2 separate regions of the Homo sapiens genome follow, and region 2 is linked to region 1. Evidence: promoter capture Hi-C in 16 types of primary human blood cells and fetal thymus (Javierre and others, 2016). All regions are on one chromosome and are shown on one strand. The core of a region is centred on a gene start or on the middle of the fragment in contact, and the rest is flanking DNA. Distances in the headings are between cores, read along the strand shown.

Region 1 (6,770 bases), core at 3,717-6,216:
GATGGGTGAGGTTACTGGGAAAGTGTTTTAAGGCCAGCTGGCATGTATCTTTTACCCTTTTCTCTTTTCTAGAATAACAACACCCGTCCTGGAGGCAGAAAAACCATCTTGTGCCCATGAGGGAGAACACCAAACAAATCTGGATGACTTCCTTGAGTAGCTGCATTTATATTGGACTGTCTACCTCCTGACTTCTTGTCTTGTAAGAAAAATCAATCTCAATTTGGTTAAGCTACTGAGTTGGATTTTCATCAATTTCAGAAATAGCAATAGGTACAGAAAGTTTTAGCTAAGAGCCATTTAGAAATGTGTGTCAATATAATGCTGTCAATGGTAGCTATATCTGTAATAACAACACAACTGTTCTTGGTTTTTGTTTTTGTTTTTTTAAAAAAATTTCTTGCCCTCATATAATTAATTTCAACATGAGAGAGCATGCGTGCTTTTTTTTTTTTTTTTTTAGAAAAGTATGGTTACCTTCCTGGAAGAGCATGTGTATTTTCAAAGCCTCTCACTCCCTCCCTTCCTAGGAATGAGCAGCTGAAGCCAGGAAGCACATGAAATAAGAAAGAGCGCCCATGGCAGGAGGCTTAAGTTAAAGCTTAAGGAAATTCCCAAGATGATGTTTTTAAAGGGCATTCAAAGGGCACAGTCCAGGTAGAAAACAAAATCTAGGATTATTTTAATGAAAACAATTCTCCATTTTATCTTCTCCCAGTAGTCTTCTAGTTCAAAGAGAGAGAAGATTGTATTCATGGAAAATTGATGGATAAGCAATGATTTTTTTTTTTTTATCTGAAAACCCAGGTCCTATCTTCAGTGTGTATTTATTGTATGATCTAAGTTTGGCACTTACATCTTTCATCTCACTTTCTCTTTGTATAAATGGGCACAACTATTCCTGTTCCCTCCCACACATTGATGCTGTGAGGATAAATAAGATCATGTTTATACTTCCATGGAGAAAAAACACTAGGTATACTAAAAATATCACTATTTTCAGAGTCTTTCTTTTTCTTGGAAATGTATAATAATGCCAGTTGCAAATGGTATTGTTGAAGAGTCAAATTTTCCATAAAAGTGATCACCTTTTCAGAAAATAGGTAATTAGTTCTTTGAAAACTAAAAGTTTCTTTTAAAATTTGTAACCATTTTTCAAACTTAGCAGCTTAAATTTGTTGATTTATTCTTCAAATTCATGTTTATTGAATGCTTACTACATGCAATGTATTTTAATGGAAATATTTCCCTCTGGTAAAACAAAATATATTTTACCTTTTATTGATGACTCTGTAAGATACCAATATATGAAAAAAGGATTTTAGCTGACTTCAAATATACCAGCCAACATCACATTAGGTTACAGAAATATAAGCCATAGAGCTAAGTTAAGGAAAATGTTAGTTCTATTCTATGTTGATCAGACAAACCTGGAGTTGAGTTCTACATGCACAGTGTAAGACAAGCTGGGGTATATCTGAAAAGAGGTGATTAAGATGGTGAAAAGTGTGGGAATCCTGTCATATGGGTGTTTAAACTAAAAGGATAGTTAAGATGAAAATTATTAAAACTTTACTTTAAATCATTGAATACCTACCAGAAGAGAAATTGGACTTATTCTGTATGGTTGCAGATGACTAACCTATAAACACAGAATTTTAAGAAGAGAAACATCCCACTTAAATAGAACAACAGTGCCAAAAATGAGCAGAATTGCCTTTGAGGCTCTTGTTTATGGAGATTTTTAGAACAGAAACTGGATGACCTTTGGACAGAGGCTTTGTGGAAAGGGGTTTTGATGGAGTGAGAAGTTGGGCTCAAGGGTCCCTCCTGATTCTGAATGTCTTACGCTCCACTAGGAACCTCACTTACTCTACTAAGTTACCGGAGAGTGATGCCTTTATAGCTTTTTCGTCCTTTGTTTCTGCACTAGAAGGCCTCAGACTGCTGTGGATGTTTTGGTTTTGTTTTTGTACTTATGGCTGCTTTTTAGAGTTTTCCCATCCTTCTCATTACTGGATTGCCTCAGTTTATCCCCTGTCTTTAATAACATCCTGCTCCATTCTAATCTGTTACTTCTAATAGGCTGTGATCTAGAAAGATGTCATAACCAAACTTAATAAAAATACATGAATGATTTAAGTGAGGTCCTGAAGGGCTCTCCTGTGAGTAAAGTCTTTGGTGCAAAGAGTTTTGCCATTTATTTTATTTTATTTATTTTGAGACAAGGTCTCACTCTGTTGCCCAGGCTGGAGTACAGTGGTGCCAACACAGCTCACTGCAGCCTCGACCTCCCAGGCTCAAGCTATCCTCCCACCTCAGCCTCCCAAGTAGCTGGGACCAGAGGCATATGCCACCACGCCTGGCTATGCCATTTATTTTACTTTTTAAAGACCCTTTTAACTTCCTTTCAAGTTCTCAGGAATATTCTAGATTTAACTTATCAATTTTGTGGTTTCTGGGAATTGTTATTGAAATTCTGTAAGTTTGCTAAGCTTCCTACTAATTCATAAAATTACAAAATATTCTGAATCCATGACTGATGTTTTCAAAAACAAAATCATAGGCAATAATATACTTATCCAAGATTTTTCTTATGTAGGTAACCTTTTCTTGGATAGCTTCTTCAAAATGAAAATATCCTTTGTAACTAAACTGGACTATATAAGCAAATGATGTTTATTAGAATGCTGACTATTTTTCTCTCCTGAGCTTTTCATATAGATAGTATTGGTGTCGAATGTGCAGATTCCTTTTGAATATGGGAAATCATTGTGATATAACTGGTTTTCTCCTTAGTCCTTAGTCTCCTTAGCCCCTTAGTATATAACAATAGTTTTAACACAACTCAGTCAAAAACATGTAATGAACACTTATTGTAGGTGTTCTTGGCTAAGAATAAGGAAAAATATCAGAAAAACATAGTAATGTTTTGTATAAACTGAATATTAAAGACTGTTCTACCATTAGAGAGCTTTCTGTCTTGTTAAAGGAAATAAGAGCCAGTTATTCAGCAAAGAAATATATTATCAATGCAGGATTCGTGCAGACAGTAAATGGCTTTGAAATTTGTAATGAGATATGGAGTAGTTCTGTGATTGCTTTGGCAGCACATATGCTAAAATTGGAACAATACAGAGAAGATTAGCATGGCCTCTGCATGAGAATGGCATACAAATTTGTGAAGCATTCTATATTTTTAGCAATATATTGTACTCTTGAAAAATGCTAAGACAGTGAGTGTATTCTTAAATGCATGTTAATATGCAAAAATGCATATGTTCATTGGCTAGATTTAGTCATTCCACGCTGTATACATATTTCAAAACATCATGTTGTACATGATAAATACATACAAGTTTATTTGTTAATTAAAAAACAGAAATGGATTAGTTCTGCCTAAATATACTAGACTCAGAAGTTAATAATAAATGTGCATCCACCCCTTTGTTTAATTTGCCTTGGCTATTAAGTTAACATTTATGCTAAGAACCTTTGGCTGTTATAGTTTCCTATCATTTATTTGGTAAAAAGATTAATTGGAGAGGTGTTTCAATGGCTCCATTAGGAGATATGAAGAAAGCCCCACCATTGCCAGTATTTGGGAACTCAAAGCGTTTATTTTCTAAAGCAGGTGATGCTACATGAATTGCTGTCCACACCTTCTGCTACTTTCCTCTGTTGGCCAGAAGAATAATTTTAATGTCGCCCAAATGGATTATGCTGACCTCAACCCAGATCCCCCTGGGAGATATAAACTTCTTATATGTTCCTGGCTGGGTCATTGTAAATAATATCTACATGTATCCCAAAGCTCTGAATTATCCTCATCTGTAACAGACACAACGACTAAATGGTATCTGGAACGTAGTTAATTTTCTGGAAAATATTCAAAGGAACAAAATGAGCACTGCAATACAAAATTGCTGTCGACTTAACTTTTGCCAGTTTCCCTGGATGTGTAAGTAGAATTATATTTTCACAGAACTTGCAAAAATCTCAGACTCGGCTGCTATTTAATCTCTTTCCAGAAGCACCAGCCCTGAGCAATCCTATCTGCAATTAGCTGCGTGTGGTTGCTACTAAATTGCTCCCCATAAGTTAGTTCCTAACACTGTTTCACAGCACGGCATACTCTATAAAGGGAGAACGCTTGGAAGGACCGAAGAGTTCCCTTTGTCGTGCCCTTGCCCTGCCTCTGGACAACGATGTTCTTACACTGCCGACTAGCTAATCCTGTGACCCTTTTCTTTCAGCACCTTGAGTTTGAGTTAGGCAATACCTCTTACACCAAAGTGGGCACACCTTCGGATCATGTAGGCAGCGATTGTTTAGCCGAGACATCCCCCTACCCCCGCAAAAGGCAGCAGAGAAGCGGCGAACGCCGCTTAGCAGTTGGCGCGCTCTCAGTGCGGGTGACGCGGGGCTGGGTTGGGGTGTTCCGTCCCCGGGTCGTGGGACTCCCCGAGAGGGGGTGGCTGGAGGAGGAGGGAGGGCTTGTTTCGCTGGGGGATGTGGGAAGTAGGCGCTAGCCTGTTTCGCGGTTTTTTAAGCCCCTTGGCATGCCCTGACCTGATCTAGAGGGAGTCTACTGCTCTTAGGAATGTTCCGGGAGAAGGTGGGAGATTGCTTCCCAGGGGAGGCCTGTGGGTGCTGCAGGGCACCAGGGGGGTCACTAGGGAGATGCAGGGCGCGGGCCAGGAGGGGCGCCAGGGCAGCCGGGGGCCAGGCTGAGGCGACCGGGACCAGCGGGCAGCCGGGCGTCGGGGGCGTCGGTCGGGGCGCGGGGGACCCCCCCCCCGGGCGGCAGCGGCAGCGGCGATCCGATCCCGCGGGCTGCGCCGCCCGGGCTGTCAAGCGCGGGGGGCGGGCGGGAGGAAGGGGTGGAGGTGCGAGGGGAGGAGGGCTGGCACCGGAGCGCCGCGGCGTCGGTGCAATAAAAATGCATCGCATGGAACTGCCCGTGGAGAAGGACGGGACGGAGCCGGGGCAGCCAGAAGAGGTGGGAAAAGCGGAGGAGGACGCCCAGGAGGAGGCGGCGGCGGCGGCCGGGAAGTGAAAGGTCTCGCAAAGTTCAGCGGCGGCTGCGGGCGCCGAGCCCCGGGCTAGCGGCAGACGAGCCCGCAGGGCCGCTCCGCGGGGCAGCGCAGCCAGGCCGGCTATGGTCCCGGGGCTCCCGCCGCCCCCCAGGTGCCCGGGACCCGCCAGGCCGGTGCGCGAGGGTCACCCCACCTCCCCGCGCGGTCCCGGCCCCTGGCTCCCAGCTGCCGGCGACCGCTGACCGAGCCCGGCGCCCCAGGAGGAGGAAGAAACCAGGGCCCCGTTCCCTCCCGAGGACGGCGGCGCTTCATCCCGCAGCCCAGAGGTCTCGGCTCCCTCCGGCACCCGCCCGGCCCGGCTGCTCCCGGCTCCTCCCGGCCATGGGGAGCTGCGCGCGGCTGCTGCTGCTCTGGGGCTGCACGGTGGTGGCCGCAGGTGGGTGGTGACGCGGCGGGGCCCCCACCCCTTCCCTCGCTGCTTCTCTAACCCATCTCGGGACTCGGGGGTGCAGGGGAGCCAGGGCTGCGAGCGCAGAGCGCTGCTCCCGAGGGTGAAATGAGTGGCCATGTTCCGCCTCCTTTCCCCGGGGCTCCGCAGTTTCAAATACTATTGATTTATTTTTACAACTGGGATACACATGCGCTTGGATAACCAGCTATCCTGGGTGCGCCCTGCCGGGGATACTGCGACCGGGGTTTCTTTCTTGGTTTGGCTTGTTAAAAAACTGCTTTTCCACTTGGTGAGGGAACAAAGGACCCAGCTCGCCATCCCCCGGCACTTCATGGCCTAAGGAATGATGAGGAGGGGTGGCCCAGCGACCCTGGGCGCGCGTGGGCTGGGGCCGGTCTCTGGTAGAAGCCCATCGCTGGTGTCCCTGACCTGGTGCTGGGTACTAGAGAACCAGGTAAGGACACCTGGGGCAGGGCTGAGCGCCCTCTCCCCGGAGCAGTGACTGGAACGCAGTGGGACTCCTGGCTTGGACGATAGGTGGTGATCACCCCGGGCTTGCATTGAGCTGGCTGGCCGCCCCTGGGGAATTGGTACCCTGGCAGAGACTCTGCGGGAGGTCGGAGGCGGGTCTGCTCCCTGGCTCGGTAACTGGACAACCGGCGTCGGCGTCGGCAGATGCCCTCTCCCTCCCACTCCCATCCTGGCTTTCTTGGGCTGCCCTAGGCCACCGGCTCCTGGCTCGTGGTTTCTGTATTCGGGAGCCCCTTCTGCTCCTCTCCCTCCCTCTTGCGGGTCACCTGGTTTCCAGTTAGGCGTAAGCGCAGCCCTGTAGGTGAGGGGGAGAGATGTGAGGGAGTCTGCAGACATCCAGTCTCTCGTGCGGATCTTGACTGCTTCAGAAAGGGGCGCCTGGGCTAGAGGGATGCGCTGGTGGCTACAGAACATTGTAGCACGCATCTCCTCCCTTGGGCTTCCACTCTTCCCTGAGGGCCGCTGGCACCCAGCAAAATCCAGGCTTTCCAGTCTGCATCCCAAACCAGTCCAAGTCACAGGAGCATCCTTAGTATCATTGAATAGTCCCTTGAGTGACTCCAAGTATTTTGCCCCATGGATTCTTTATCTGGCTCAAATCTTTTCTGGACTTAGGAGTTTAGGGGCATTTAAAATTATTGGATATTTTTCCCAGGGACCTATTAAAGGCCTAAGATTTTACTTTAATTCTTGCACTCTTAAAATATGAGCTTTAAAAAAAACCTTTTCCTTCTCAAACCATATTATGG
Region 2 (6,893 bases), core at 2,702-5,201, 220 kb after region 1:
GCTTCTGCGCCCGGCCAAGGACTTGCAGGGCTTAAGGAGAGAATTGTGTTTTCTATTATGTCTTAAAAGCCAGCAAACTGTAAATCCTAGAGAGGAATCATTTTCAGGAAACTAGAGATGTAGTCCAGCCTTGGAGTAGCTTGCCATCCATACAGTCTTAAAGGTACTATCAATTTCTTTTTAAATCAAAGCATCAAACAGGCACCACTGTTTGTAAGGACTTGGGGAAAAATGAGCCCAATTGATACTTCTTTTCAAGCAAGTAACATCTAGCAAACTACACAAGCAAATAGGAACAAAATCAAGACAACATAAAACTGATTCCAGCTCCAAAACTAGTTCTGTGGCCTTCTGAAGTTTCTTACCTTTACCACAAATATTCCATGTGATCAGACACGCAGCATATTACAGTGAAAAGAGCAAGGACTTAAAGCCAAGGCATTCATCCCATGGGAATTTTTAGTTCTAATGCCACTGTAGCCACTTTCTAGCTGAGTGATTTTAAAGAGTTATCTAACCACAGATTCCTCATCTGTAAAATGGGGATAATAAAATCTAACTTGTAAGGATTAGGAACATTGTAGATGTCCAACAAATGGGGTGTGTGCATGTGTATATGCATAAATTACCTCAGCCTCCCTCTGAGATGAGAGAGTGAGATAAAACACAATGTACTAGCCCAGGCACAGTGGCTCATATATGTAATCACAGCACTTTGGGAGGTTGAGGCAGGAGGATCGCTTGAGCCCAGGAGCTGCAGACCAGCCTGAGCAACATGGAGAAACTCTGTTCCTACAAAAAATTCAAAAATTAGCTGGGCATGGTGATGGGCCACTGTGGTCCTAGCTACTCAGGAGGCTTTGTCTTTAGATTGCTTAATCTTCATTTGTTTTTATTATAACAAAAATAAGCTTTGTTTAGAAGTCCCTTGGACAGCCAGGTGCAGTGGCTCACACCTGTAATCCCAGCACTTTGGGAGGCTGGGGAGGGAGGATCGCTTGAGGCAGGAGTTCAAGATTAGCCAGGGCAACCTAACAAGACCCCATCTCTACAAAAATTTAAAAACAAAATAGCAGGGCATGGTGGGGCTCCCGTGTAATCCCAGACACTCAGGAGGCTGGGGTGGGAAGATCACTTGAGCCCAGGAGTGTGAGGCTACAGTGAGCTGTGATGGTACCACTGCACTGCAGCCTGGGTGACAGAGCAAAACCCTCTATCTGGAAAAACAAAAAGATTCTTGGTTGGTGATGTTTCCTCAGAAATCAAATCCACTTCTGACCCTAAGCTGCATAAGACATATGCAGGGGAGACAAGGAGAAAGTCGTTTGTTCAATGCAGACTTGGAGGGCAAACATAGGCCCAGAGGGTAAATATCACAATGAAGCAAATTTTGGTTTTCTCTAAAGGAGAAATTTCTAGTAACAGGAGGAGGTTACTAAGTCACCAAATCCTGGAGGAAACAGCTCTGCCTTGGTATCAGGAAGCTAAGTAACCCACTGTGGCTCAGTCATTTCACCCTCAACTTCAACTTTCCCAACTGCAAAATTCAGACTAAAGCTTTTATCTTTACTGTTTTGGGTGCCAGTGCTTACCAGGACACTTCCTGTATCACTGAGTCTACAGAAGAAATTGATATATGACCATCAATACATTTCACATCAAATAAAGATAGAGGAAATGATGATACAGTTCAGATCAGGAAGAGGAAGTAAAACCTTGTTTATAAACCAGTTGATCCCCACCTGCATCCTTATAATGAGTAGTGTAGAGAACACATACATCTCGGTCTCTTTTTTACATTTTTTTTTTAGAGATAGGGTCTCACTCTGCCACCCAGCTGGAGTGCAATGGTGCAATCTTAGCTCACTGCAGCCTTGATCTCCCAGGCTCAAGCGATCCTCCCATCTCAACCTCTCAAGTAGCTGGGACTACAGGCGTGCCACCATGTTCAGCTTTTTTTTTTTTTTTTTTTTTTTTTTTTTTTTTTTTTTTTTTTTTTTTTTTTTTTATGTTTAGTAGAGACGAGGTCTTGCTATGTTGCCCAGGCTGGTCTCAAACTTCTAAACTCAAGCAATCCTCTTGCCTGGGCCTCCAAAGTGCTGAGACTACAAGCATGAGCTACCATGCCCAGTGAGAGCATATACATTTCTCTTTCTCCCTGAGCCCTTTCTCATCTGTTATTCTGCTCATTCTCCAAGGTCATCAGTTAAGAAGTAAATTATGGTAGAAGAGATTCTATAAATTATGATAGAAGAACATCTCAATCAATTTGGACACCTTAACATGTAAGTCAGGCCGGGTGTGGTAGCTCATGCCTGTAATCCCAGCACTTTGGGAGGCCGAGGCGGGCGGATCATGAGGTCAGGGGTTCGAGACCAGCCTGACCAACATGGTGAAACCCCGTCTCTACTAAAAATACAAAAATTAGCTGGGCGTGGTGGTGGGCGCCTGTAATCCCAGCTACTCAGGAGGCTGAGGCAGGAGAATTGCTTGAACCCGGGAGGCAGAGATTGCAGTGAGCCGAGATCGCGCCACTGCACTCCAGCCTGGGCGACAGAGCGAGACTCGTCTCAAAAAACAAAACAAAACAAAACAAAACAAAACAAAAAACCCATTATTTTCACAAGTAGATACATTGGGGGGTGAGAAGTTGTAATAACTATTCCACAAAAAAGTCACTTTCATGCCATCTATAAGGTAAACTATAAAAGAACAATGGCTGGTCATGAGAAGACTTGCTTTCTAATTCCAGATCTGATGCTTGCTGTGTGGCTTCAGACAAGTCACTTAATACTATAATTTCCTCAGCTATATAATGCTAAGTATGAAGAAAGAGGATCTGTATGAAAATCCTTTGCGAGGTAGAAATTGCTCTGCAATGAAAAACATCATTACTAATGCATAATTCTTCTTTTCCTCATTCCATTTATATTGGAATAATGCCATTAATATATCTTTGGGATAACTCATATTTCTCTCTTCCCTCCATTGATTTATTCATGAAATGACTGAAGGCATTTTGGTAGATAAAGAAAAGACAAGTGACAATAACCTGTTACAGGATTAAAGCCAAATGGCTGTGTAAAAAAGGGTACATTAAATGATCAAATCAAAGACTATACATTTGCTATTTGTAAGACAAATACTGCATCTTTATGGGTTTTCAGATCCATCAGTTAAATAACAAAGTAGTGGTATAACATACTCAAGAGGTTTAATATAACATTAAATGAAGGCTGACAACCATGAAAACCATTTATCATTGTATTTAAACCACTAATTTCAGATTAAATTTAAAACACTTAATTCCTAATTGTTAGCACTGACATGCCAACAAAAATCTTAAGGAAATATTTTGTAGCTAGATCACACCATTGTTACACATTTGCTTGAGAAAACAAAGTATGTATGTAATTAAAGTATGTAACTAAATCCTACCTTATCATTATGGTGCCTTCAATAAGATCCACTCTGCCAAAAATTGAACAATTTATAATACATAGTTTAATTGGAAATTTTTATTGTCATCTGTCAAATTCTGAGACTATACTTTTTGATGTAGTGTATGTGGTTAGAGCATTCTCTGAATAAATCCAAGGTTGCATGGCCATTCTTACAGGAGCCACTTAACTTGAAAAGGGAGAAAAAAAAATCAGTGGCATATCACAACTTGCTATCTAGCCACCTTCTCTGATTTTGGTGAAAGTGATTCAAAGGTGACCAGGTAATTGTAAATGGACAGCCTGGGTAGAAAAATTACTTGAAATGACATCTTTCCAAATGTACAGTACTTCCCAAAACTACAGATAAATGGAATAAAACAAAGTCTAGTTAATCTAAATATAAACAACATAGTATGCTGTGATCCAGTTAGAAAAAACTTTTTCTTCTTTTCCGTTGCAAAATCTAACATTTCCCAGAGCAGATCCTGTTCTGGTGTGTGAATTTGAACCCGTTGATTAAATTTTGAGCATGTTTCCTCAACTGTAAAATGGGGATAATAATACCGATCTCCTCAGGGTTGCTGTGGAAATTACAGTAAGCAGTGAAGGAAAGATGACTACTAAGTAAAAGGAGTAACAATTACAGTAGGAGCAGCAGCAGCCACAGTTCTCATTCTGTCCGGATGCATCCAGGATGATGTATGGTCTGACAGTGAAAATGAAGAGAATGTTTCAAGAAAAGAAGCACGATCAGCGTTGGCAAATAGTGAAGTAAAATCAGTGGCTTTTGAATTTGACAAGAAAGGAATTGTTGGTAGCTTTGTTTCAAGAGAACATTTCCAAAGCAGTAAGAGGGGAAGCCTCAGTGTAGGCAGCTAAGGAAGAAGCAAACATAAAGAAAATGGAGGCAGTGGCCGGGCGCGGTGGCTCACGCCTGTAATCCCAGCACTTTGGGAGGCCGAGGCCGGCGCATCACGAGGTCAGGAGATCGAGACCATCCTGGCTAACATGGTGAAACCTGGTCTCTACTAAAAATACAAAAAATTAGCCAGGCAAGGTGGCGGGCGCCTGTAGTCCCAGCTACTCAGGAGGCTGAGGCAGGAGAATGGCGTGAACCCGGGAGGCGGAGCTTGCAGTGAGCCGAGAGCCGAGATTGCGCCACTGCACTCCAGCCTGGGTGACCGAGCGAGACTACGTCTCAAAAAAAAAAAAAAAAAAAAAAAAAAAAAGACAGAAAAGAAAGAAAAGAAAAAGAAAACAAAATGGAGGCAGCAGGTATAAACCGGAGGTTTTCAACATTTTGTATTCACCAATAACTATTATAGAGTCATGATTTTAAAATATCAGAGAAAGGCTGGGCGCGGTGGCTCATGCCTGTAATCCCAGCACTTTGGGAAGCCGAGGCGGGCAGATCACTTGAGGTCAGGAGTTGGAGACCAGCCTGGCCAACATGGTGAAACCCTGTCTCTACCAAAAATACAAAAAAAAAAAAAAAAAAGAGAGAGAGAGAGAGCCGGATGTGGTGGCGCACTCCTGCAGTCCCAGCTACTTGGAAAGCTGAGGCGGGAGAATCAGTCAAACCCAGGAGGTGGAGGCTGCAGTGAGCTGAGATTGCACCACTGCGCTCTAGCCTGGGTGACAGAGTGAGATTCTGTCTCATAAAAAAAAAAAGAAGAAGAAGAAGAGAGAGAGAGAGAGAGAAATGTATGTTTCTGAACTTTTTTTGTTTTTTGTTTTTTTTGAGACGGAGTCACGCTCTGTCGCCCAGGCTTGAGTGCAGTGGTGTGACCTCGGCTCACTGCAAGCTCTGCCTCCCAGGTTCACGCATTCTCCTGCCTCAGCCTCCCGAGTAGCTGGGACCACAGGCGCCCGCCACCACGCCCAGCTAATTTTTTTGGTATTTTTAGTAGAGACGGGGTTTCACCGTGTTAGCCAGGATAGTCTCCATCTCCTGACCTCGTGATCCGCCTGCCTCGGCCTCCCAAAGTGCTGGGATTACAGGCGTGTGCCACCACGCCGGGCCTGAACTTTTTATTAAAGCTCTCGTTTACAGAAAGTTACAGGATTGAGAAAAATACGACTGAGACCGTCTTATTGCCATGGCTGTAAGTCATAAACAAGAAAAATGTTCCATTAGTGGTTGACAATATATAAAACTATTGAGGATATATTTTGCTGTCATTATTACTTCAGAGCCCATTGATAATTAATACAAACTGGTAAGTGAAGTCGGCAGGGGGAGGCGAGCCATATCTCTAAGTAGATTGGAGATTGAAAGAGAATGCATTTAGGCCGGGCGCAGTGGCTTACGCCTGTAATCCCAGCACTTTGGGAAGCCAAGGTGGGCAGATCACGAGGTCAGGAGATCGAGACCATCCTGGCTAACATGGTGAAACCCCGTCTCTACTAAAAATACAAAAAATCAGCTGAGTGTGGTGGCGGGCGCCTGTAGTCCCAGATACTCGGGAGGCTGAGGCAGGGGAATGGCGTGAACCCGGGAGGCGGAGCTTGTAGTGAGCCGAGATTGCGCCACTGCCCTCCAGCCTGGGCGACAGAGCAAGACTCCGTCTCAAAAAAAAAAAAAAAAAAGAAAAGAAAAAGAAAGAAAGAAAGAATGCATTTGTAGTGAAACACAGTATGCCCACTAGATTACTGCTATACCACTGAAATCTGCTAATACAGTTTTCTCACTGATGACGTAAGGAAGAAGAGGAATAATGTGGTTGAGACAGGAAGCAATCGGCCAAGCAATTTCTTTCAAGATATGGATAAATATGCATGCTTGAAAGCCGAAGGTAAGGGGCCAGTGAACAGGAAGAGAACGCAGAGAAGAGGAAGGGTATCTGCTTGAAGGTGATGTCTGTGTGTGGGGCGGGGGAGAGGAGGAAGGGGGAAAGCTTAGCAACAAAGTATCTCATGTATTAAGACAGCATAAGTCTTAATTCAGTAACAGTAGCAACTCCATATATTGAGTACCATTACCATATTAAAGCAGTGTCAAATATCTGTCTTATGCATAGTAACAGGTAGTGCTTAAAAGGTAATTCACATTTTTTAAAAGTCTGTTTTATCGTCACAACATATGTAATTCACATTTGATTTTTACTGGTGTAAGTATAAATCGCAAATTAAGTAGTAACATCATTTATTCACCTTTTGGACCTCAAAATATACCTCAAATTCATGGGACATTCATAGTTTACAAAAGCTTTCACAGAATCCTCACAACTTTGTGAATCTGCAGAGTCAGTTGAGTCTCCCAGGCTGGAGTGCAGTGGCACATCTCAGCTCACTGCAACCTCCACCTCCGGGTTCAAGCAATTCTCCCACACCAGCCTCCCAAGTAACTGGGATTATAAGCATGTGCCACCAAGCCCAGCTAATTTTTGTATTTTTAGTAGAGACCAGGTTTCGCTATATTGGTCAGGCTGGTCTCAAAATCCTGATCTC

Evidence for each region. The method cuts DNA at HindIII sites, captures the fragments that hold promoters and counts their contacts. A CHiCAGO score of 5 or more calls a contact.
Region 2: a fragment that was not itself captured here is called in contact with the fragment with the promoter of NTN4 in region 1 in 1 of 17 cell types (endothelial precursors); the score reaches 6.0 in endothelial precursors.

The regions. Positions count from the first base shown.
Region 1 is chr12:95,788,960-95,795,729 of GRCh38, reverse strand. NTN4 (netrin 4) reads left to right here and starts at 4,966. Exons shown (of 10, transcript NM_021229.4): 1 at 4,966-5,475. The coding sequence starts at 5,421. SNRPF-DT (SNRPF divergent transcript) reads left to right here. Exons shown (of 3, transcript NR_135014.1): 3 at 73-385. It also overlaps the pseudogene RNU6-247P. The HindIII fragment of the contact is 5,039 bases long and covers 2,498-6,770 here.
Region 2 is chr12:95,566,394-95,573,286 of GRCh38, reverse strand. No RefSeq gene overlaps it. Among named protein-coding and RNA genes, the nearest start is that of USP44, 18 kb to the right of the region's middle. The HindIII fragment of the contact is 4,783 bases long and covers 1,560-6,342 here.